Regions from separate parts of the Homo sapiens genome. Here regions 2, 3, 4, 5 and 6 are each linked to region 1. The links are contacts of gene promoters, found by promoter capture Hi-C in blood cells and fetal thymus (Javierre and others, 2016). All regions are on one chromosome and are shown on one strand. The core of a region is centred on a gene start or on the middle of the fragment in contact, and the rest is flanking DNA. Distances in the headings are between cores, read along the strand shown.

Region 1 (3,502 bases), core at 642-3,141:
GGTTCAAGATCAGCCTGGGCAACACAGTGAGAGCCTGTCTCTATTGAAAAAAAAAAAAAAAGAAAGAAATGCAGAATTTCAGGGCCCACTCTAGACCTAATGGATTAGACCATGCCATTTAATAAGAACTCCAGGTGATCAGCATGTATATTAAAGTGTGAGATATACTAATTTATTATTTCCCAATTCAATTTTCAGTGGGCCCATGTGAGCCTGGGGCACAGTCTAAAGCTCTCTCTCTCTTTTTTTTAAGGACAATAATTGCTTCTTCTCTTTCCAGGGTTGCAGGCAGGTAGATTTAAGGTGAACTCAGATTTTTCAAGGAATAATGGTGAGTATTGGTAACTTCAAAGGGTCCATCCTGGTGACTTGCAGGGGAAGTTCCACTCAGGAACTTTTGTGTCTTGCTTAACACCAGACACAAGACTACATGTAAGCCATGTGGCTCACATGTGTAATCCCAGCTACTCCGAAGGTTAAGGTAAGATGATCTCTTGAGCCCAGGAGTTGGAGACCAGCCTGACAACATAGCGAGACCTTGCCTCTAAACAAAAATTACATATTGTATGATTCTATTTATATGAAACATTCAATTTCTGGTGGAAGTCTCATATGATCTTTGGTTGGAGGATGACTGGATGTTGACAGATGACAATGAGGTGAAGAGCATTTTAGCAGAGGGAATGGCATGATCAAAGACAAAATGGAGAGTCAGAGGCAGGAATGCATATTTAGGGAGGAATGAATGAGCACTGGCTACAACAGAGATCTGGGAAGAAAAGCAAGTGAAGGAAGTAAAGCTGGAAACATGGATTGACAAGTTGCCTTTTTCAAATGGAAAAACTAACAGGTGTGAGGGAGAAGAGAGTCAATAGAAATTTCTGTCTTTTCCAGATTTGTTCACATTCCCCTGATTTGTAGTCATTTTGTCGGCTTGGGAAAGTGGTTTTTGAAAGATCGTCTTTATAAAGGTAGGCTCTGATAGGATGCTCAAGCTAAGAGCAAGGAAGGACAAAGAAGGCGCCTGGCGACAGAAAAGGGCACTAACAAAAATTGGGCAAAAAGGAAGTGTGGCGGTCCCCAAATCCCTTCTTCCTCCATTTCAGCTGAGATCATTCGCCAGTAGGCAACTGTGGTATTACCAATAAGTTTGTATCACCAATAAAATATTATAATGCACCTGGCTAAAAACCCTGGCGTGATAACACCAAATTCATGTTATTAGAAGGAATTAAATTTTAAAAAGCACACCGTTCCAGGCACACAGAAGGAGCCCCCGAACGTTTGTTTTATAAACGCAGGTTGGTTGCTGAGGCTTTGTTTTGGAGCCTACGTTTAGGAGAGGAAATGATTCAAAACTGCCCCCCAAAACCTATATCCTCCAGGAGCACTGAGGTTGGGGCGACCTGCTGCCAACTGGTCTGGTTTTCCCTTTTAACACACGCTTCTTGCCCACTATCCGGTCCCTGCGGTCAGTGGGTGCAGCAGGGGTCGCAGTCCAAACAACCAATCGCGACGCGGCTGCGGGGCGGGGGCCACAGCGCTCCGCCTCCCCCCTCCAATCCGCCCTCCCAATCCTCCTAGGCCGCTCTCTCTCGCACCTGCGTGTCCCTCTGCGCTCCGACTGGTGCGACTTCTCCCTGCGCTAGCGAGGCAGGGTTTTGGCCTCGCCTCTCGCGAGATCGCCTCCTGTTGCTGCCGCCGCCGCTCCTGGCCACTGACTGGCGGCGCCTGCGCAGCCGCCATGTTCGGTTGCTATGCTGCGGCCTAGGAGAGGGGGTGTGCTTGAGGGAGGAGGAAGAGATAGAGGAGGAGGAGGGGGAGGAAGAGGAGGTGGAGAAGGAGGGGGGTGACTGAGCTCCTCTTGCACTCTCACACACAAACGCTGCCCAGGATTACCCGCCAGCTCACGCCGCGCAGTGCGCTTTTCCGCTCCTCGCGCCCCACCACCAACATTGTTCTCTCAGGACTCCTGGGTCCCAGGGGCCGGAATTGGGCCTGAGCGGGAGAGGAAAGAGACTTGGCTTTGGCCGCGGGGTCGGAGGATTGGGGCCAGGCCCCCTCCCCCACGCACTTTTGGGGGTGTGGATTATCTCATCCCTGCAGGGAGGTAGGAGAGGTCGCCGGCTGCCCGCCTCCCTGCCACCTCCCCAGCGGCGCCGGCCCGCGGCTGCCCAGCAGCATGAGGTGGTGCTGGCGGCTCCGGGTCGTGGCGCGACCGCTGCGGCGGCGGCTGCTCGGGGGGCGCTGAGGTAGCCCCCCGGAGCGGCACGGAGGACGCGCTTCTCCTCTGCGCGCCGGGGCCTCGAGGCTTTTTTTCTCCAGCCGAGAGGACGCGGCTGTGATATACGAAGGTAAGAGGTTCTCCGGTCCCCGCCGGCCTCTCGGCCCTGCACGTTGAACGGGAGGCTCTTACCTGCATGTGTGGCTCCTGGGAGGTGAGCCAGGTGGGGCAAGCCGGAGGTACGAGGATGATTTGAAAGGAAGGAAAAAAGGACAAAAACAAACAAACAAACAAACAAAAAAACGCTTTCTTTCCTTTCTTCCTGGGACCTCTGCTTTTGCGGGGGTTATAGTTGGAATCTCTGTTATGGGTCAGCGAAGGGCCAAGGGATGGAATAGGTGCGGAGATGGAATGTTCCCAGTACCTAAACTCTAGGTAAAGCTTTGGAATCTTGAGTTTTCCATTGCTGGTAGAATTCCTTTTTTTTTTTTTTTTTTTTTTGGCTCATATGAGCGCTTCTTGCACGCTGCATGAGCCAACTATTCCTACCATTGAAGTTTTAAGCCTGTTATGATTCTACCAGTATATACCTGTATTTGGGAATCTGTAGTTGAGCCAAAAAAAAAAAAAAAAAAAAAGTTGAGATGTGGGTAAACAGTGATGCATTTCGCAGGGTTTCCATAAAATGGAACAGCTTACAGTTGCACAGGTGATGTGTGGATGTTTCTGCAAAACTTAGGGTGGAAGATTTTATGTCTGGGCTTGCATCATGTAGTGACATCAGTATGTACAAGGACGATTTGTAGGATTTTTCAAAACGCCTGTTCTAGGATAACTTGTTATGCATCTGCAATATGCCAGCTGCTTTTCGAATAAGAGGTTTCAGTAATACTAAGTTTCTGTGTCCAGATCTTGGGCCCAGTTGAAACAGTACAGCTGATTGGTCACATTTAAAACATATTTATGGAGAAAGATAAAAGGCCAATGTGTCCGACTTGCAAAAGACAATTAGAGTAGAAAGAAGACTGGAACAGTAAAAGCCAGGGCATTTTTAAATCTTGGTTTTCTGAACTTTAACGTGCCAGAGGAAAAAAATTTTTTTTCAATTTTAAGGGGGAAGGAGATGGCCTTAAAATAAAGGATTGTTCAGAGCCTAAACTGTGCTTAATGGAATAGAGCTAGGTATATCATCTAAATCTTGAATTTGACTAATATAAATTCAGCTTTCTTTTAAAGAAAAAACTCGTAAGCAGAAGTTTGTGTATTCTACAGAACCTC
Region 2 (3,502 bases), core at 366-2,865, 780 kb after region 1:
GAAAGGGGAGGAGGGAAAACGAATCCACCAAGAGCACATGGTTCTGTTGACCATCACTGTGGACAACTGGAGCTCCACCCCACTGGAGCCTTGTAAAATGTGGCTCAGACCAGCCACCCAGGAAACAAAATGGGGAGCGTTTGTCCACTGGGTCGCGTTCATGGGCAGAGCACACCGCACTTCTGGGCTGGCCATGCACAAAGGCTGAGGGCTGCAACATTGGAGAGGCACCAAGGGTGGTCACAGGCAAAGGGCCGTCACCTCTGCACAAAGCTGCTGCAAACCCACACGGAGCCAGTCTCCCTTGAAGTGGTGCCCAAGAGGTGTCTGAAACATCCTATAAAATCAAAAGCCCTGCACCCCGGCACACAGTGAGCTCGAGGGCACAGATTCTACCATAATCAGCTCTTCGGCACCACTGAAGGGAGGATCTCAACAAATGTTTGCTGAAAAAGAATGAAAAGCTGATAGAGGAAGGCACAGACAGGTTAATGGTTACCTTTGGGTGGGAGGTTAAGGGCTTCCCCCGACCCCATCTCTCTGTATTTCCTATGCTTTCTCTAATAGAAACGTTCTTTTCATGAGGAAAACATTGTATTTTCCTGTTTTAAATCCCCTCAATAATTTCAGAAGGTATTGCAGAGGAAGAGTGAGCCTCTGACAGATAAATGCTCTTTTCTCTCGAGTGATCTGATGACAAAGTCATCCACAGAGACTGGTGTTTCCCACTGGTCATTTTGATCTTAGCCAGCCGGTTGTCATAAATAAAAGGGCCGTCCCTCGCAGCCCAGAAGACAGGCCATGGGTTGAATGCTTTTGTTCTTTTTCTGGGAGTGAGGGGTACTGTAGACTGAACCAGGCACGTGGGCTAGAGAGGAAAGAACGCTGGCTTCAAAGCTGGCCAGGCTCTACTCCTGGCGATGCCCCCACCAGCCGAGTGACCTAGGGCAGGCATACAGCCTCTCTGATCCTCCAGTTGCTCTTCTCCAAAGCAGTTCCCGGCAGAGCTGGAGGAGGATCGGGAGCGAAGGGGCCTTCCTCACCCAGTGGGGCTCAACAAAGATCAGTTCTTGTGCCGTCCTTCCTGGTTTGTGATCAGACCATGCGAGGGAAAGCCGGCCCTGACAACTGCCTGCGGTGGGGAGCCAGGGAGGACAGGGCAGTGGGCGGGTGCAGCAGGCACAGCAGCCAGGACTCCCAGTGCCCGGGCCTGGGCCCATCCCCTTCACTGCATGGAGCACAGGTCAAGTGCCAAGTGTCCCGCGATGACCATTGATCACACAGCCCAAACAAGCCCGAGATTTGGTTTTATTTCTCCTCTGGAAATTTAAGGACAATAGCAGTCTCTTCCTTAGGAAACTTTGGAGTGGACCAAATCACATGTGCGTGGCACTTGATTAACAATGGCGCTACAAGGGAGTGTTTGATGTGCACCAGGGACTCTCAGCGTTTCAGTCCTCACCATAGACCTGCCAGCCCAATAGGAAACTGAGGTGGACAGCAGGGAGGAGAGTAACCTGTCCAAGGCCACATGGCTTAGTGGCTCAACTGGGAATGAGACCTGGTCTGACTTCAGAGCCTGAGCTCTGATCCCCTACGCTGTGAGTCTCTGGACACGGCGGTGCTGCTTGTTTATTTTTGCAGCGGGGTGCTGTTGTTGCTGACACGTCTGTGCCCATGTAAGGCTGGGCCTGCTGCTTCTGCTGGAGCTGGCCCTTTAAGCCTCCCGGGTGTGGGGAGCCTGCCCTATGGTGCAACCCTGTTCCCTGGAGCTGGCGGCATTACTGCTACAGTAAGGAATGTCCCTGGGGAGATTTAGTGCCTGGTGATAGACATGTGGGCTTGATTTACCCCCGCACTGCTCCATTCAGCCCTAGGCAGGCAGTGCACCGGGGCAGAGTTGGTGAATAACTAGAGAAACCAGAGGGGTGCACAGGGTGCTGGGCGAGGGGGCACGGAGCCCGCAACTGAAGGGCACTTTTCTGTGCCAGGCCTGTGATCTCAGCAACTACTCAAAACAAGCCTATCAGGTTACACATCCATTTTACAGAGGAGGAAACGGAGGCTCAGCGAGGTGAAGCCACCTGACCCAGGGAGTAGTCAAAAGAACTGAGGAAATCTTTGCTTACTGCAAGGAAGGGCCTCCTGGGACCATGGCATTTGTCTGAGCCTCTGGGACCAGGCCCTGGGGGCTCCGAGCCACTATCCCAGCCCTGCCAATCTTCCTGTCACCAGAATCCAGACCCTTCTCACAGGGCTCTCAGTTCTGCAAGCCCCCTGTTTCCAGTTAGTGAGAGACTCCCTTTATCAGCCTTGGCAAGGAGCCCTTCAGTCTGCCAAGCCCACCCCTGGGCCCTGGCAGGGTCTCTGGCAGGAATGGCTGGAGGGGCTTCCCTTTCTGTCTTCCATGCCGTCTGGGGACCTTCCCACCTCCTCCCCTTTGTCCTTGCTGTCTGCCGTCTGCCACCCCCTCTGCCCATCCCTCCTGTCCTGCCCAGGTGCCGCCTCTGCACAAGGCCTTCCCTGACTGTGCGCTCAGGGCTCTCCTCTTCTCTCTGGCCTTAGTGCCTGGTGACTGCACAGGATGGAGAGCTCAGCTCTGGCCTCTGCGGTTTTGCCCTCATTTCTGATCTCTCTCATCTGGCCACCTCCCCAGGAGATCTCAGGAAGATACCCTGCCAGGGCACCTTGAGAAGTCAGATGGTGCCATGGGCTCTTCCTCGCCTCCCAGCACCTGCCCAAAGCATCAGCCGGTGAGGACCTTAGCGCCCCAGTGCCCTCAGCTTCAGCAGCTGAAGGAGGCTGCTGGGCCTGGAGGGGAGCAGAGCTGGGCCAGCCAAGGGTGCGCATTGTGTGGCTATGCAGCCTGGGTGTGTCACCGCCTGGTACGCCCAGATGTAAGATGAGTGGGCTGACCCAATTCCTTTAATTCCATCCCTTTAGGAGACTGAGGTTCAGTCTCCACACTGTGCTCATTAAGGCAGGAAGGAGGGAGCTGCTCATGGCCCACAGTGGCCTATCATTTGGAGTTATTGAGCACAGACTGTGCCTGAGTTAGCCACAGAGCCCTGAAGGTGCTCCCGCCCCCCGGTGTCCTCATGAAACCTTGAGTTTCACTCATCACGGTGCTGCTATTGCAGATACTCTACTGGGCGGATGCCACCTGCCTGCTGCTTGCAGGATCGTAAATGGGCAGTGCCCAAGCAACAGAGCAGGTAAGCAAGGGAGGACATCCCCCGATTCCTCAATGGAGGAATCACCCCTTTCCCAGGGACACTGCAGATCTGGCTTAACTGGCCCTGGCGGAAGAGGACCTGGGATCCTTGATTCATTCACAATGTATCAACAATGCACCACATCTGTTGTGTTTGCTATTGCTTCTATTGCTTCCACTGCACCTGTTACCATCAGTATTAGTTCCCATGGGGCTACTGCAATGGTCACTGGATGGGAATCTGGAGACCTGGGTTCTAGGCTAGCCTCTGTGTGTCCTGAATTATTC
Region 3 (3,502 bases), core at 418-2,917, 600 kb after region 1:
CCAGGGTCACACAGCATGGCAGGGAGGGGCTAGAATTAAATCCCCTGCGTCCTGGGTCACATGCTGAGTCCCCAGCCCTGGTCTTTGGGGTCTGTACCCTGCTGACCTTGTGAGGTGGGCTCGCCCCAGGGAGGGAGGGGGTGCACCCTCTCTCTCCTCCCGCCTGTCCTCTCAGGGCCACCAGAGTGACTGTGATCCTCCTTCCAGGACAAAGCTGAGACAGGGCTCCGGAGTTGTTTTAGGAAATAGTGAAGCAAGCCGACAGCACTGATTCCTCCGGAGTTCATGTCATCTTATTCCCTATCTTTGGCCCAAAGATCCTTCTGCATCAGCGGGTGCGCATGGATTCTGTCTGCCGACACCAGAGCCGCAGAGCCAGACACAGATTGGTGAGCAGTGCTTATGCGTTGAAGGCACTCAGGTTCCATCATGGAACCAGGTCGCCCGAGGATGCTGACCCCATGGAGGCAATCAGGCTGCAGAGAGCTCGAGGAACGCCTGTCCCTGTGAGCTGCTCAGGGACCTAAGCTCTCAGAGTGTCACTGCCGTTGATTCTGGAACAGAGTTTGCAGGCCAAGTCCACAAGCTAAGAATAGTTTTTTACATTTTTAAATGGTTAAAAACAAATCAAAAGAAGAAGAATATTGCATGATGTGAAAATGATATGACATTCAAACTAAATGCCTATACATACAGTTTTATTGGGATGCAGTGACCTCATTCATTTATACGTTAGTTAGGACAGGGACCCATATGGCCTGCAAGGCCTTTAGGGACTTTGGCTGACCCTTTGCAGAAGAAGTTTGCTGGCCACTGATCCAGAGGCTTCCTTGGCTGGCAGATGTCCCAGCAGACCACCACTGCTCCCCTTCTGTCCTCCTCCTGGGACTCTCTCCTGGGTGGCCATGCTGCTTCCATGACCCTCCTCAGCTGACGGGTTCACCTGTGGCCCTGACCAAGACCATCACAGTTTCCTGAACATCAAAATGCATTATCAGTGAGTCTGTTGAAGACATTTAGAGAGTGAGGATCTGGAAGGCTGAGGGTGGCACTCTGTGATTCTTCAGAGCCCTTCTCATGCCCAGCACAGGACAGGACTAAATAAATAAGGGAAACAGATGGGCATTAAGACCAGCAATACCGGCCGGGCACTGTGGCTTATGCCTGTAATCCCAGCACTTTGGGATGCCGAGGCGGGAGGATCACGAGGTCAAGAGATCGAGACCATCCTGGCTAACATAGTGAAACCCCATCTCTACTAAAAATACAAAAAATTAGCCTGGCGTGGTGGCAGGCGCCTGTAGTCCCAGCTACTCGGGAGGCTGAGGCAGGAGAATGGCGTGAACCCGGGAGGCAGAGCTTACAGTGAGCCGAGATAGGGCCACTGCGCTCCAGCCTGGGCGACAGAGCAAGATTCCGTCTCAGAACAAACAAACAAACAAACAAAGACCAGCAATACCACCTTACACCCCTTAGGGTTGGCTACTATCAAAAACATAGACAGTAACAACTGTTGGTGAGGATGTGGAGAAATTGGGACCCTTCTGCCTTGCTGGTGGGAGTGCAAAATGGTACAGTCCTTGTGGAAAACAGTATGGAAGTTCCTCAAAAAATTAAAAAAGGTATTACTATGTGATCCGGCAATTCCACTTCTAGGTATATATCCCCCCAAAACTGAAAGAAGAGCCTTGGAGAGAGATTTGTACGCTGATGTGCGTAGCAGCATTCTTCACGTAACCAAAAGGTAGAAGCAACACCTTTGAACACAGTGTCCCTCAGCAGGTGAACGAATAAACAAACGTGGCATCTCCATACAACAGAATATGATTCCGCCTTCAAATGGAAGGCATTCTGTCAACTGCTACAACATGCATGACCCCTGAGGACATTATATTGAGTGAAACAAGCCAGTCACAAAAAGGCAAACTGCATGATTCCACTTGTGTAAGGAAGTCAACGTGGAGTAGTGAGATTCACAGAGATGCAAAGTAGAATGACGGTTGCCGGGGGTGTGGGCAGGGGAATGCAGAGTTGATTTTAATGGTACAGAATTTCAGTTTTGGGAACATGAAAAAATTCTGAAGCAAGATGGTGGTGATGGTTGCACGACGATGTAAATGTGTTTAATGCAACTGAAGAATACACTCAGAAATGGTTAAGATGGTAAATTTTATGTTAGGTATGTTTTACCACAACTAAAAATTTTAAAAACACCATAAAACGCAGCAGCAGAAGCGCCTTCCCCCGCGGGCAGCCCCGTCTCCAGCCTCACTGGCGGCCGCCATCCATGTCCTCTAGCCCCACGGTCCTCATCCCTTCTCCAGGGTGGGGTGCTCCAGAGCTCCCTCACCTTCCCCAGCCCATGAGGTTCCTCTGTGAGTGAGTGGGTGTGTGTGACCTCTTCCCTGAGATGCCAGGCCTCACCTGAGGCAGAGCTGGAGGCAGGTGTCATAACCACCCCAGAAACCTTAAAAACGGTGCCCAGGATGGTCCCTGAGAGAGTAGGCTGCCTCAGGAGCCTCTCCAGAAAAGGTTGACATGCTCAGCTATGATGTTAGGCCCTGGCCTAAGGCTGGGCCACCTCAAAGAGCAGTCTGGCCAGCTCACCTGGTTGGGTACAGTCCTCAGGACTCAGAGACTCACGTGGGCCACATCTAGAATGGCCACCACCTTTCCCTTGCAGGCCCACAGCGAGTGTGAAGCAGGACTTTGAGCGTGTTCTCTTGGCCACGCATGGAACAGGCACTCTCTCATCTCATTTCATTCTTACACAGCTGTTCAGTGAGACCTGGGCACCATGAGTGCCTGCCCAGCCTTGGATTGCTGCCAGGCTTCAGACCGAGGGGCTTGGGGGGATCTGGACAGGTCTGGAGCCTGGGGCCTTGCCAATTGGGGCTCTGAGACCCAAGGGCTGATGTGGGGGTCAGGAGGGCACCAGGGCCTGCCAGGAACACTTGGCTTTTTTCCCTAAATGTTTTTCTGAAACTGCTCTGCTTGGGCCTTGCATGTCGGCCCTTTGTAACTGATGGGTAGAACCCAGAGGAGAGGGCAGTGCCCAGGCCAGAGCCGGTAGCTGCAGGAACATCAGTGGACACACACGGCAGGGGTGCCCAGGTGAGTGGGGAATAGGACGAGAACTGTGGTCCTCTCAGGGGCTGGTGACTGAGGGGTCCTGTGTGCTAGACAAAGCCATGACGCGTGTCTGAAACATCTTCCATCACATGTTCACAGTTCTTTGTAGGGCGCCCAAGAGGTTATTGCGGGAGCCCAGTGTTCTGGGGGTGGGGGTATCTGAGAGGTCTTCCTGGAAGAGGTGGTCCCTGAGCCAAATCTTGCAGGACAGATGGGAGTTGGTCAGAAAAGAAGGGCAGAGGGAAAGGTATTTTCGGAAGTGGACACAGCTGCGGCAAAGGCCCAGAGCATGTGGCCTTGACCTGCAGTGCCCCCCACTCCCCAAATGTCCCCCCAAGCCAGGCCTCTGGGAGGTGCCTGTGCTGCCCCT
Region 4 (3,502 bases), core at 744-3,243, 570 kb after region 1:
CACACCCATGCCAGGCAGTCAGGGATCCTGCTCCTGTTTCCTCAGAGGGTGAGCAGTTCCATCCACCGCTTCTTGCTTTGTCAAATGGGTAATCCTGGCAGCTGCCAGGCTCATTGCTATTTGCAACTCTACCTGTTGGTTAGCTCCAGGTGGATTGCCCAGACCGGGCCACCCTGTTACTGCTGGCTTTGGGCCACTGGGATCTCTCAGCTACTGTCACTCCCCAGATGTTAATGTCTGCCTGAAATCCCAGGGCAGGAAGGGACCCAAAAGGTCATCTAGTTCTCCCTCCTGCCTTGAAGTGAGACCACACCTAAGCTGATCCAGACAGCCGAGGGTCAGGCCTGGTGGTAAAACCTGCAGAGAAGCCTCCCCCGGGTAACTTGTTCCAGGCCCCTCCATCGGGAGGCACTGACACTTTCTCACTTCAGATCTGGTTGCTGCTCATTCCCGAGGGGTTTTGGATGCCCCTCTTGAACATCTGCTGGTGTGTTGGGGGAAATAGGAGCCTGCCATCCTCGCTGCAAGGGTGGAGTGAGCCAAGAATGGAGAGTGTGAGTGTGTGTGTGGGGCTTTCGGGAGGTCTTGCTCCCTGTCTGCCAGGGGCCTGACACTCCAGGGGCAGCCCCGACTGGGAAGTGCCCCAGCCCTGCTGGTGGACAGTGAGTCCAGTCCAGAATCCTACTGAGCCCAGCCTCTTGTTCTGGAAGAAATGAAGTTTCAGTAGGAAAGAAATGAGGGCAGAGCAGGAGGAGTGAATCCGTCAGAACTTACATCTCTTCACTCATTCAGCAAATTCTTGCTGGCCCCCGCTACATGCTGCTTGGGGATAGGGGAGAAATGAGAACTGGAGGGTGTCCAGGTTGCTTTGGCTGTCGGAGAGAGGTCCCAGCCCAAGGTTGTAGGGCACCGGGAGAGCCTGCACAGTCTTGTGCTGTCGGCAGGGGTGTGGGGGGTTGAACATATTTGCAGAGCCCCACCTGCCTGCTCTGGCTCTCTGGAATGGCTCCGCTGTGTTGGGAACAGCTGGTCTTCGCTGCACTTTCCTATCCAGGCCATCCCACAGCCACCATGGCCTGCAGTGGAGCAGGCACCCAGTAAAGACAGGTGATGGTTCTTAGAACCTGCTGTACACCATCCCACCCCTGACCCAAGTGAGGCTGCCGGGGGCACATGCAGCTCCAGGCACTCAGCCTACATCATCTCCCCTGACCCTGCCGGCACCTCTGCTGTGAGCCATGTCCCCTCGAAACTCATATGTCCAAGCCTGAACTCCCAGCACTTCAGAAGGTGACTGTATTTGGAGATTTGGAGATAGGGCTTCTAAAGAGATAATCAAAGTAAAAAGAGGTCATATGGTTGGGCCCTAATCCAGTGTGACTGGTGTCCTTATAAGAAGAGGAGATTAAGACACAGACACACACAAAGGGAAGACCGTGTGAAGACACAGGGAGAGGACGGCCACCTGCAAGCCCAGGAGAGAGGCTGCAGGAGACATCAACCGTGCCGACACCTTGATCTTGGACTTCCAGCCTCCAGAACTGTGAGAAAATAAATCTTGTTGTTTGAGCCATCCCGTCTGTGCTACTTTGTAAGGGCAGCCCTAGCAAACTAACACAGCTTCCGCGGAGCGGGATGTCATCCCCATCTAACAGATGAGGTCTGTAGCGCTGCCAGATGCCACACAAGGAATGCCGGGCCAGTTCCTAAACCTCCCTGAGCCTCTGTTTCCTCATCTGCAAAGAGGGATTAATGATAATTTTGTGGTAAGGATTCAGTGAGATAGGACACAATGCATGTTTGTTCCCCACGCATGCCTCGGCCTGATTTGATTAAGAAGCCCATGGGCCTGGGGCAGAGGCTAGCTGTGAGTTCTGCATGTGGTTGACAGCTGGTGTTGATGAATGGTATGTTAAAAATAAAACCCAAACCAAAAAGCCTTTTGCACTCTATGGAGAACCTGAAATCGGAAGCGCTCAGTTTCATTAGTTGGCAGACGTCTCTGACTTGTGAACCTGACCGGGCACCCTGGGACTCCCTATGTCAAAGTCTTCCTACGGCAGCCTCCAGCGAGGTGGGGGAGGGTGAGAGGGCGCGTCTTCCAGGCACTGTCTGCCTGACTTGACCCTGGTAAAGTGTACACGGGAACAGAGCCCTAGGGACCAAGCCCTCAAGCCCAGGGGCAGAGCTAGCTGCCCGCCTGTAGGCACCATTGGTGCAGTGTCAACCCAGTGGATGTTCCCTGTTAAGCCTGTGCCCTGCTCAGCTCAGCTCGGCTGTGGGAGTCAGCTTCCGTCTGCCTGGAGACACCCGAGGGTGCAGAGCAGCACGTGCAGATATGTTCCTGGGGGCGGGTACCACTTTCTCTTTTATTTGGAAGTTGTCTTTCACAATGAAACAGCCTTTAAGCCACATAACCTTTTTCCATCCCTGAACCTGGAGGGGCCATCGAAATCCTCAATGTCACTCTGGGGGAAGCTGATTCTGGGAGGGACCCAAGGGGGAGGGCAGGCAGGGGCCCTTCTTTGGGTTGGTCCAGAGACCTACTCTGTACCACTCAATTATATTTTAAAATCTATCTGTACGCTTTCACACCACAAGTCCTAAAGCATCTTTAATTAGGTCCCACACACAGATACACACACCCAGCTCAACAATGATAGAAAACGCCAAATTCCAGTTGACAAGGAGCCAGAAGCCCAGCCTTTCCTCTGGCTAAACAGAGGGACCCATTATGCTGGAATATTATTTTCTCATGGTTTGGAACCATTACATCAGCCTTGATGTAATAACATTGTTTAACTTCAGAGGTGTATTTATTTTGGTTTGGAGTTCAGATAGTTTAGCCGTTAGCTGGGGATTGAGCAAAACCCAGACAAAGCCACTAAAGTTTGAAATGAACCATTCTGCCGTTCCCCTTCTCTGCTCCCCAGAATAAATATTCTTCAGATGTAGTTTCATCTCACAGCAAAGGTGGTGACCTGGCTGCTGATAAATTTTGGAGGCAATTTTTTTTCCCCTCTGGTGGTTGGCCAACATGATGATGACCAGCTGGGCACTGAGTGGGTAATCAAGCCCCAAACCCAGTAAGGACTTGGGAATTCCACCAGCAGCTTCTCTGAAGATAGCCTGTGATCTTTCCACGGTTCCTCCATAAGCCCAGCTCTTCTCCTTAAATAACTCGCTACAGGTGGCGCTTTGATCGGTCACCGTGGGGACACAGGGGATGGCTCTTGTTAGCGGCTGAGCCCAGAGGGCCAGGTCTCCAGACAGGAGCTCTTAAGAGCCCCAGAGAGTAACTGGAGGCTTCTAATTGTTTCCTCTGAGCCCAATCCTTGGAATGGGTGGAAAAAACTCTGGTATCTGGGCTGTGATATCCTCTGTGCTGGAGTGCAAGTGACAGGAACTGTGAAATGACCACTGAGGCCGGGTGGTGGAGGCGTGGGAGCCCCAGGGCTTGTTGGTTGGGGAGCCCTCCCAACTGCATGTTCCTTCTAGCTCC
Region 5 (3,502 bases), core at 611-3,110, 540 kb after region 1:
ACAGGTGTGAGCCACCATGACCGGCCTGGTCAGTTGTCTTCTGATACCAACTTTCAAGTGAGGGAATTGTGAGTTTTCACTAAGCCTGTGTTGATTTCACTTATATGTTTTGCTTTTACCTCTTGGTGATCAGTTTATTACCTGTGCAGGTAACAACCTGAACTGCCCGTGTGGAGTAGTACATCCTTTGTCTTATCTTTTTTGAAATGTAGCTGACTTGGGATGTTCTCTTGTTTTTATATGGTCAACAAATCTAAGTTAATTTACCTGTGCTGTTAGCGGTTTTGTAGATTTTTTGTTCTCAGGTTTGGGACGATCCTGCTTGCCAGCTGCAGTTGGTGAGTTACCTGCTCCTTGGTGATGCTGCTTTTTAAAATGCATATTGTCAGTGCAGACTTCCTGATTTCCTTTTGTAAGTTGCTACACGAGGCCCGCTTTGAGGACTTTTTAGAAAGGATGTAGTACAAGTTTTAAAACTAATTTGGGCCCTTGGGTTTAAGGCTGTTCTTCTCTATTTGAGTAGATATGAATGAAAAAAGAGACTTCCTCCAACACCCTTCCGCCCCAGCCTTTGTCTAATTCAAGTGCTAGAGCTTGTCCTGACACACCGCAGCTTGCTGTTCATTTCTACTTGTTCAGTTGTGTGCCACCAAGCTAGACGTGTTCAGTCACACTGACAGTACTGTCAGGATGATTCATTGCCACACACGTAGCTCAAGTCGGAATGGGGCCTCTGGTCGTGTCTGAGAAGCACAGAAACCTGGCTAAGCTGAGGATTCGGCCTCCCACCCAGGTTGGTGAAGGTGCTGCGGCCTGGGAGCAGGAACGGAGCCCCCAGCTGCCAGGAGTGTGAAGCTGCTTCTCCGCAGTGCAGCCTCCACAAGCCTTCTCAGGTGGCAGTGAAGAAGGACCAGATACCTAAACAGTTTTCAAGTTCCGGAATCCTTGGGAAAGTTAGTGTCCATCAACTTCACATGTTAAAACAAGCTTACGGCTGGGCGCGGTGGCTCACACCTGTAATCCCAGCACTTTGGGAGGCTGAGGCGGGTGGATCATGAGGTCAGGCGATCGAGACCATCCTGGCTAACACAGTGAAACCCCGTCTCTACTAAAAATACAAAAAAAAATTAGCCGGGCGTGGTGGCGGGCGCCTGTAGTCCCAGCTACTCAGGAGGCTGAGGCAGGAGAATGGTGTGAACCCGGGAGGCGGAGCTTGCAGTGAGCTGAGATTGCGCCACTGCACTCCAGCCTGGGCGTCAGAGCCAGACTCTGTCTCAAAACAACAACAACAACAACAACAACAACAACAACAACAAACCAAGCTTACTTATTTCTAGTAGTTAAAAACATCTCAAGGTGAGTGTTGCACAGGAATCAAAGGGATGAGCTGGTTAACTTCTTATGGGCTAAGTCATCAGTTACTTCTTGTGTATTTTCAGTAGTTGCAGCTGGGAAAGTTTTCCTAAAATCTGATTTATGTGGCGAAAACACATGTATGATATTATTTTAATCCTGTGGTAAAACTCTGTGAGTCTAGACTGCCTTAATTAGCCACACATTGGTTTGAGTGAGAATCTAAGACAAGAAGATGTCCTGACCCATGAAGTTTCTTCATCCCAGCGCAGCTGGAAACGTAGCCCCAGGCCAGGGTTTCTCAGCCTGGGGGAGGGCTGCGGCATTCTGCAGGGGCTGGCACTCAGTGAAGTGGGGGAAGTGCTGGGGACTCGATTCTGGCTGTGGAGACAGCAGTGGAGTGTGGCTTCCTTAAAGGCCCTGACTTCCTGGGTCAAGGTAACTAAGATACCTGTGTAACTTTAAGTCAGCACTTATCCATGTGCGATTGGCCAACTTATCAACTCATCTGTGCAAATTATGTTCTTTATTAGGGAAAAATTGCTTTTGGTATGTGTATGGATTTTTTTTTTCTCCTGCAGAGATTCTTGAATTGTATGGGTGTAGGAAAATACCCCTTTCTTCTTTTTGTCTTTTCATGGCTAAGTCGTATTCCTTACCTCAGGCACAGGGCAGGGGCTACATGTTCCAGAAACACACATCAGTCGCCATTGCAGCCGCTTCCACTTCTGCCAGGCTGGTTGGGGCAGAGTCACCAGGGACCTCCCCCTGCACAGTCAGTGGCCGTTTCCAGTCTTTACAGTATTGCCAGTGCTCTCGTGCCTGACTGAGCTTTCTCCTGCTTCTCCTTTCACCTCTCTCCCTGCTCGGGGTCTCACTCCTTTACTGCCCACTGTGGTGGTGCGCACCTGTAGTCCCAGCTACTCGGGAGGCTGAGGCAGGAGAATCACTTGAACTCGAGAGGCAGAGGTTGCAGTGAGCCGAGATCGTGCCACCGCACTCCAGCCTGGGTGACAGAGTGAGATGGGAAAAAAAAAAAAAGAATAAAGCTTATTGACGTATAACATACAAACAATAAAAGGTCTTTGTAAAGCCCCGTTCTGACCCTCTGCTCACCCTTAAGTACCGTGTAGCTGCTCTGCAGCCTTTCTGGACGCGCCGAGGACTTTCCCTGACGTGCCTCATGAGCCCCTCACAGCTCCTTCTGCGGCTTCGTGCTCCTCTCAGTCCCTGTTGTCGTGTGAGCCCCATGAGCACAGAGACCACACACTGTTCACTCTGTGTCTCCGGGCCCTCTATTGATGTGGACTCATTGCAGGATCTTGGGTGTTGGCTAAACTGAATGAGTTAGCTTAAATGTAAAATCATGTCGCCTTGAGGAAGTGCTTCAAGTTTCTCTATAAAGCAGGGGCTCTCTTTTGAGGACTGGTACCAAGAGACATAGTGAAATAAGAGCTAGAGCAGTGATCTTAGAAGTCTGACCAGGTTCTGTTTCTCTAAACCCAGATTGGAGGACTGATTGTTTTCTCAGTGAGAAAGTTTTCTGCTAAGTTGAAAGTAGACACTTGCCGTCTGCCTTGCCGCTCCCCACCCTTAAATCCGGTGGTGGTGAGCTCGCCCTCACGTTCTTTTCTGCCCTGTTTTTCTTCCGTTAAACGTTTGCTGGCCGGCATGCCTTCTCCCTGGTATCCCCCAGAACATAGTTTTCCGTTTCTACTTTTCAGCCTCCTCTTCTTCCTTCCTTGTTTTCCTGACCTCACACGCTTTGGAGATGTGGTCTGGTAGTCATGGTGGTCTTCCCACTCAGGTCTCTCCCTGTTTCTGTCCACTGTAGGAACCCCTGCCTTGGCAGCTGGCTTAAGTACTACCCAGATTGCACTCCTGCCCGTCGCCTGCAGAAGTAAGTACAACTGATTTAGCCAGCGTTAGAGCAAACGATGGAACTGCCTCAACTGAACACACACCTAAGTGAGCCATGGCGCACCAATGCTGTGGAAATGCAGCTTTGGATAAGCCTTCTCCATCCCCCACCCCAGCTGTTCCTCCAAACCTCTCCTCTGTAGGGATTCTGGAGCGCTCTATCAGAGCCCCCAGGGACCTCACCCCATCTGGATGCCTGCCATCCCTCCACCTGCACCCTTGCCGTTCA
Region 6 (3,502 bases), core at 639-3,138, 520 kb after region 1:
CATGTGGGGCTTAAAACCTAGATGATGGGTCGATAGGTGCAGCAAACCACCATGGCACATGTATACCTACATAACCTGCATGTTCTGCACATGTATCCCAGAACTTAAAGTAAAAAGAAAAAAAAAAAAACTCATGTAGTTGTGAAGCTGAAAGAACCTCTTCTAAGCTGTCAGAACAAAAGACATTTTCATTAACCATGCTAAAGGAAAGACTAAATTATTTTTTATTCTCTATAGGAATGTTTCAAAATCATTGGCATATGACAAGAAAAAGTATACAGCAAACAAAAAAGTAGAAGGTATTCTAGAGGTATGTCAGGCAGTTTAATTAATAAAAATATTGTTATTTTGCTGGATTTTGTGATGTCAGTGCTGTTTGTATTAGTTTTTTTTATTACTGTATAATAATCACAAAGTTAGCAGGTTAAAACAACATACATTTGTCATTCCATAGTTTCCATGGGTCCAGAATTGGAGCCTCAGCTGAGTCCTCTGCTCAGAGTCCCACAAGACTCCACTCAAGGTGTCAGCTGGGGCTGTGACCTCTTCTGAGGCGTGGGGGTCCTCTTCCAGGCTCCCTAATTGTTGGTAGAATTTAGTTCCTTGTGGGTGTAGGACACAGGTGCTCGGATTCTACAAGTTGCCCGCAGGCCCCTGCCATGTGCCGTCTCCATAGGCAGCTCATACCACAGTGGCTTGCTTCTCCAAGGCCGGCAGGACAGTCTCCAGCCAGCCTAGACGGTCTTATAAAATGAAATGGAAACATGGGGGTATTCCCTTCGCCTCACTGAGAGTCACCCGGGGGTGAGATCGCTGGAGTACTCATCTTTAAAACTTTATAATGGATTATGATTTCTCATTCAATGTCAACATTTACTTTAATGTCCAGTATTACGTGTGTAATTTTGTATCTTAAGGAAGGGCCCCCATAATGAATAAGCTTCAAACCCAAACCTGGTTATCCTCCTGGGTCATGCTCCCCATGTCTTATAATGAGACACTTTTGTGTTTGGTACCTGCTTTTCTTTATCTTATTCTGGGGGGTCAAACTGGATAAATCTAATGTAATCTGCTGAATTTCCCCAAAACGTTTTTGCATAAGAGAAGCAGGTTGGGAGATCTGCATCTGCTTTGTAGGTCTTTTGTTTGTTTTTGCTCAAAAACTTATAATTTGCTTACGAAAGCTTTTTTCTCCCCTATAACAGAGGTTGGGGAAGAGAGGGGGTGGTGAGTAGGGGAATTAGGATTAGGGAGATAGGATTAGGGAAGTAGTTGTTAACAGAGGTGAGAGAGGGGGATTTTGCTTCCCCAGGGAATATTCGTAAGTGCCTGGAGACATTTTTGGCCATCACAGCTTGGGGGAAGATGCTACCAGCATCTAGTGCGTGGAGGCCAAGGACGCACTCAGCATCCTACATCACACAGGACAGCCCCGAACAAAGTATTAGCCAGCACAAAATATCCACAATGCCACTGTTGAGAAACCTGCATTAGAGGCAGAGCCGTGGCAGATCCAAGGAGAGAAGATTCCCCTACAGTGTTAGTGATTGAGAGGCCCTGGGTTGCCAGTTCCAAGAGCAAGTTCAGATACAGAGCTGGGGCCGGGCGCGGTGGCTCACGCCTGTAATCTCAGCACTTTGGGAGGCCGAGGCGGGCAGATCACCTGAGGTCAGGAGTTCAAGACCAGCCTGACCAACATGGAGAAAACCCATCTCTACTAAAATTACAAAATTAGCCTGGTGTGGTGGTGCATACCTGTAATCCCAGCTACTTGGGAGGCTGAGGCAGGAGAATCGCTTGAACCTGGGAGATGGAGGTTGCAGTGAGCCAAGATCGCACCATTGCATTCCAGCCTGGGGAACAAGAGCGAAACTCCATCTCAAAAAAAAAAAGATAACAGAGCTAGCACTGCTGAGGAGACTAGGAGAGCCTGGTCTGGAGGTTTCTGGGTGTGTGTGTGTTGGGGAGGGGGGCGGGGGTGGGTAAGAGGAGGGGGCAGATGCATGCAGAAGATTCGAGAGTTTTTTCTCTTCTTTCTGTTCTCTTCACAGAGACCAGGGAAAGCTGTGCCTGGCCTTAGTCTGTTTTTCTCATGGGCTAACATACTTGAGAACTGGAAAGTGGCAGTTATTGAAGAAATTGTAAAATAAAATTGGGGCAAGGAAGGAATAGAAATGAAGTGATGTATGTTTGGGGGAGGAGTTCTAATCGATTTTCTAAAACGGTGCTAATAGAAACTTCCATGATGATGAAAATGTTCTGTATCTATACTGTCCAATACAAGTGGCTATTGTGCATTTGAAATGTGGCTGGTGGCTACTATATTGGACAGAATGGTTCTAGAATCATAATTTTTTAGCTCGAAGAGACCTTAGCAGTAATTGTCAAACCTAGCTGATTATAGAATTTCCTGGGAGACTTTAAAAAAAAAAAACACCTCCTGAATAATATTGGTGGAGTTGGAGAACTGGGACTCTTTCAGTGGTGCTCTTCTGGTGGTTCTGCCGCGTGGCCAGGTGTGGCAGCTCCTGCCTGAGAGATCATCTAGTCAGGAAATTGAGCTCTGTGTTCAGGGAGGCCGGCTGTCTAAATCAAGCTTGTCCAACCTGTGGCTCAGGATGACTTTGAATGTGGCCCAACACAGATTTGTAGACTTTCTTAAAACATTCAGAGATTCTTTTTGCAATATATTTTTTTAGCTCATCAGGTATCGTTAGTGTTAGTGTATTTTATGCGTGGCCCAAGACAGTTTTTCCGATGTGGCCCAGGGAAGCCGAAAGATTGGACACCCCTGGTCTAAAGTCTCCTGCACCATTCAGACTCTTTGTTCATAGTGCATGCTTAACCCTTATTTAAAATTGTTTAGCTTATGTGATGGAATTTTCATGAAGATTAGATTATGGAAGGAGCCATAGTCCCAGAGTCTTTATTCTTGTCTAAGTTCTGACTTTGAGAAAAATTGGAGGGAGCTGCCAGGGTGGCAGCAGTCAGATTTTAAGCTCCTTATGCTCGGCCTAACATACTCGTTTTTGCCTTTTTTGGGAGAGTAAGGTTGGGGATGGAGAGGCTTTGGCAGCAACCGTTTCAGACTTTCAGTCTCTGGCAGCTTAGAGGAAAGTCAGCTTAGAAAGAAAGGGTCCACGTGAAGTTTGTCTTAGACTCTTGGGCATCTGAAACTGAGCCATGCAGAGCTCTGCAAGGCCAGTAGGGGATACGTATGGTTCACGCTAATGGATACAAAGACTTTGTGATTTTCTGTTTCCAGCTGAGCAATGTAAATAAACATCAGGGTTGTAATGGAATGTTGGGGTAATCAGCATACTTTTCATTGAGTACAGAGGTATGTAGGTACAGCAGGACATTCTGACTTCTGTGTCAAAGGAGCCAGTGGAACTCTGGCTGGCTTTATCCTTGGAAGCTCAGAAATATACAGTTGAGATAATTTATGGTAGAATTCAGAGATTTTCAGGGGACAGTCGTGTGTTGGATTTTTTTGGCGTGT

What was found. The method cuts DNA at HindIII sites, captures the fragments that hold promoters and counts their contacts. A CHiCAGO score of 5 or more calls a contact.
Region 2: a fragment that was not itself captured here is called in contact with the fragment with the promoter of PTPN4 in region 1 in 1 of 17 cell types (neutrophils); the score reaches 6.8 in neutrophils.
Region 3: a contact is called between a fragment that was not itself captured here and the fragment with the promoter of PTPN4 in region 1, in 1 of 17 cell types (neutrophils). The highest score is 5.5, in neutrophils.
Region 4: a contact is called between a fragment that was not itself captured here and the fragment with the promoter of PTPN4 in region 1, in 7 of 17 cell types (total CD8 T cells, monocytes, naive B cells and 4 more). The highest score is 8.4, in total CD8 T cells.
Region 5: a fragment that was not itself captured here is called in contact with the fragment with the promoter of PTPN4 in region 1 in 10 of 17 cell types (total B cells, naive B cells, total CD4 T cells and 7 more); the score reaches 13.6 in total B cells.
Region 6: a fragment that was not itself captured here is called in contact with the fragment with the promoter of PTPN4 in region 1 in 12 of 17 cell types (total CD8 T cells, total B cells, monocytes and 9 more); the score reaches 11.1 in total CD8 T cells.

Annotation. Positions count from the first base shown.
Region 1 is chr2:119,758,031-119,761,532 of GRCh38, forward strand. It overlaps PTPN4 (protein tyrosine phosphatase non-receptor type 4), which reads left to right and starts at 1,892. Exons shown (of 27, transcript NM_002830.4): 1 at 1,892-2,354. LOC101927764 (a long non-coding RNA gene) reads right to left here and starts at 1,684. Exons shown (of 4, transcript XR_007087215.1): 1 at 1,602-1,684. RefSeq lists silencers at 1,434-1,543, 2,094-2,393 and enhancers at 1,583-1,877, 1,594-1,853, 2,124-2,748. The HindIII fragment of the contact is 4,728 bases long and covers 1-2,663 here.
Region 2 is chr2:120,538,797-120,542,298 of GRCh38, forward strand. No RefSeq gene overlaps it. Among named protein-coding and RNA genes, the nearest start is that of LINC01101, 74 kb to the left of the region's middle. The HindIII fragment of the contact is 6,352 bases long and covers 1-3,502 here.
Region 3 is chr2:120,360,824-120,364,325 of GRCh38, forward strand. No RefSeq gene overlaps it. Among named protein-coding and RNA genes, the nearest start is that of INHBB, 16 kb to the left of the region's middle. The HindIII fragment of the contact is 4,907 bases long and covers 1-3,502 here.
Region 4 is chr2:120,329,371-120,332,872 of GRCh38, forward strand. The region is part of intron 1 of LOC105373989 (putative cuticle collagen 91); the gene reads left to right. Among named protein-coding and RNA genes, the nearest start is that of INHBB, 15 kb to the right of the region's middle. The HindIII fragment of the contact is 6,192 bases long and covers 1-3,502 here.
Region 5 is chr2:120,299,912-120,303,413 of GRCh38, forward strand. No RefSeq gene overlaps it. Among named protein-coding and RNA genes, the nearest start is that of INHBB, 44 kb to the right of the region's middle. The HindIII fragment of the contact is 1,080 bases long and covers 1,321-2,400 here.
Region 6 is chr2:120,280,598-120,284,099 of GRCh38, forward strand. All of the region lies in intron 2 of RALB (RAS like proto-oncogene B), which reads left to right. Among named protein-coding and RNA genes, the nearest start is that of RALB, 29 kb to the left of the region's middle. RefSeq lists an enhancer at 3,036-3,502. The HindIII fragment of the contact is 1,412 bases long and covers 1,183-2,594 here.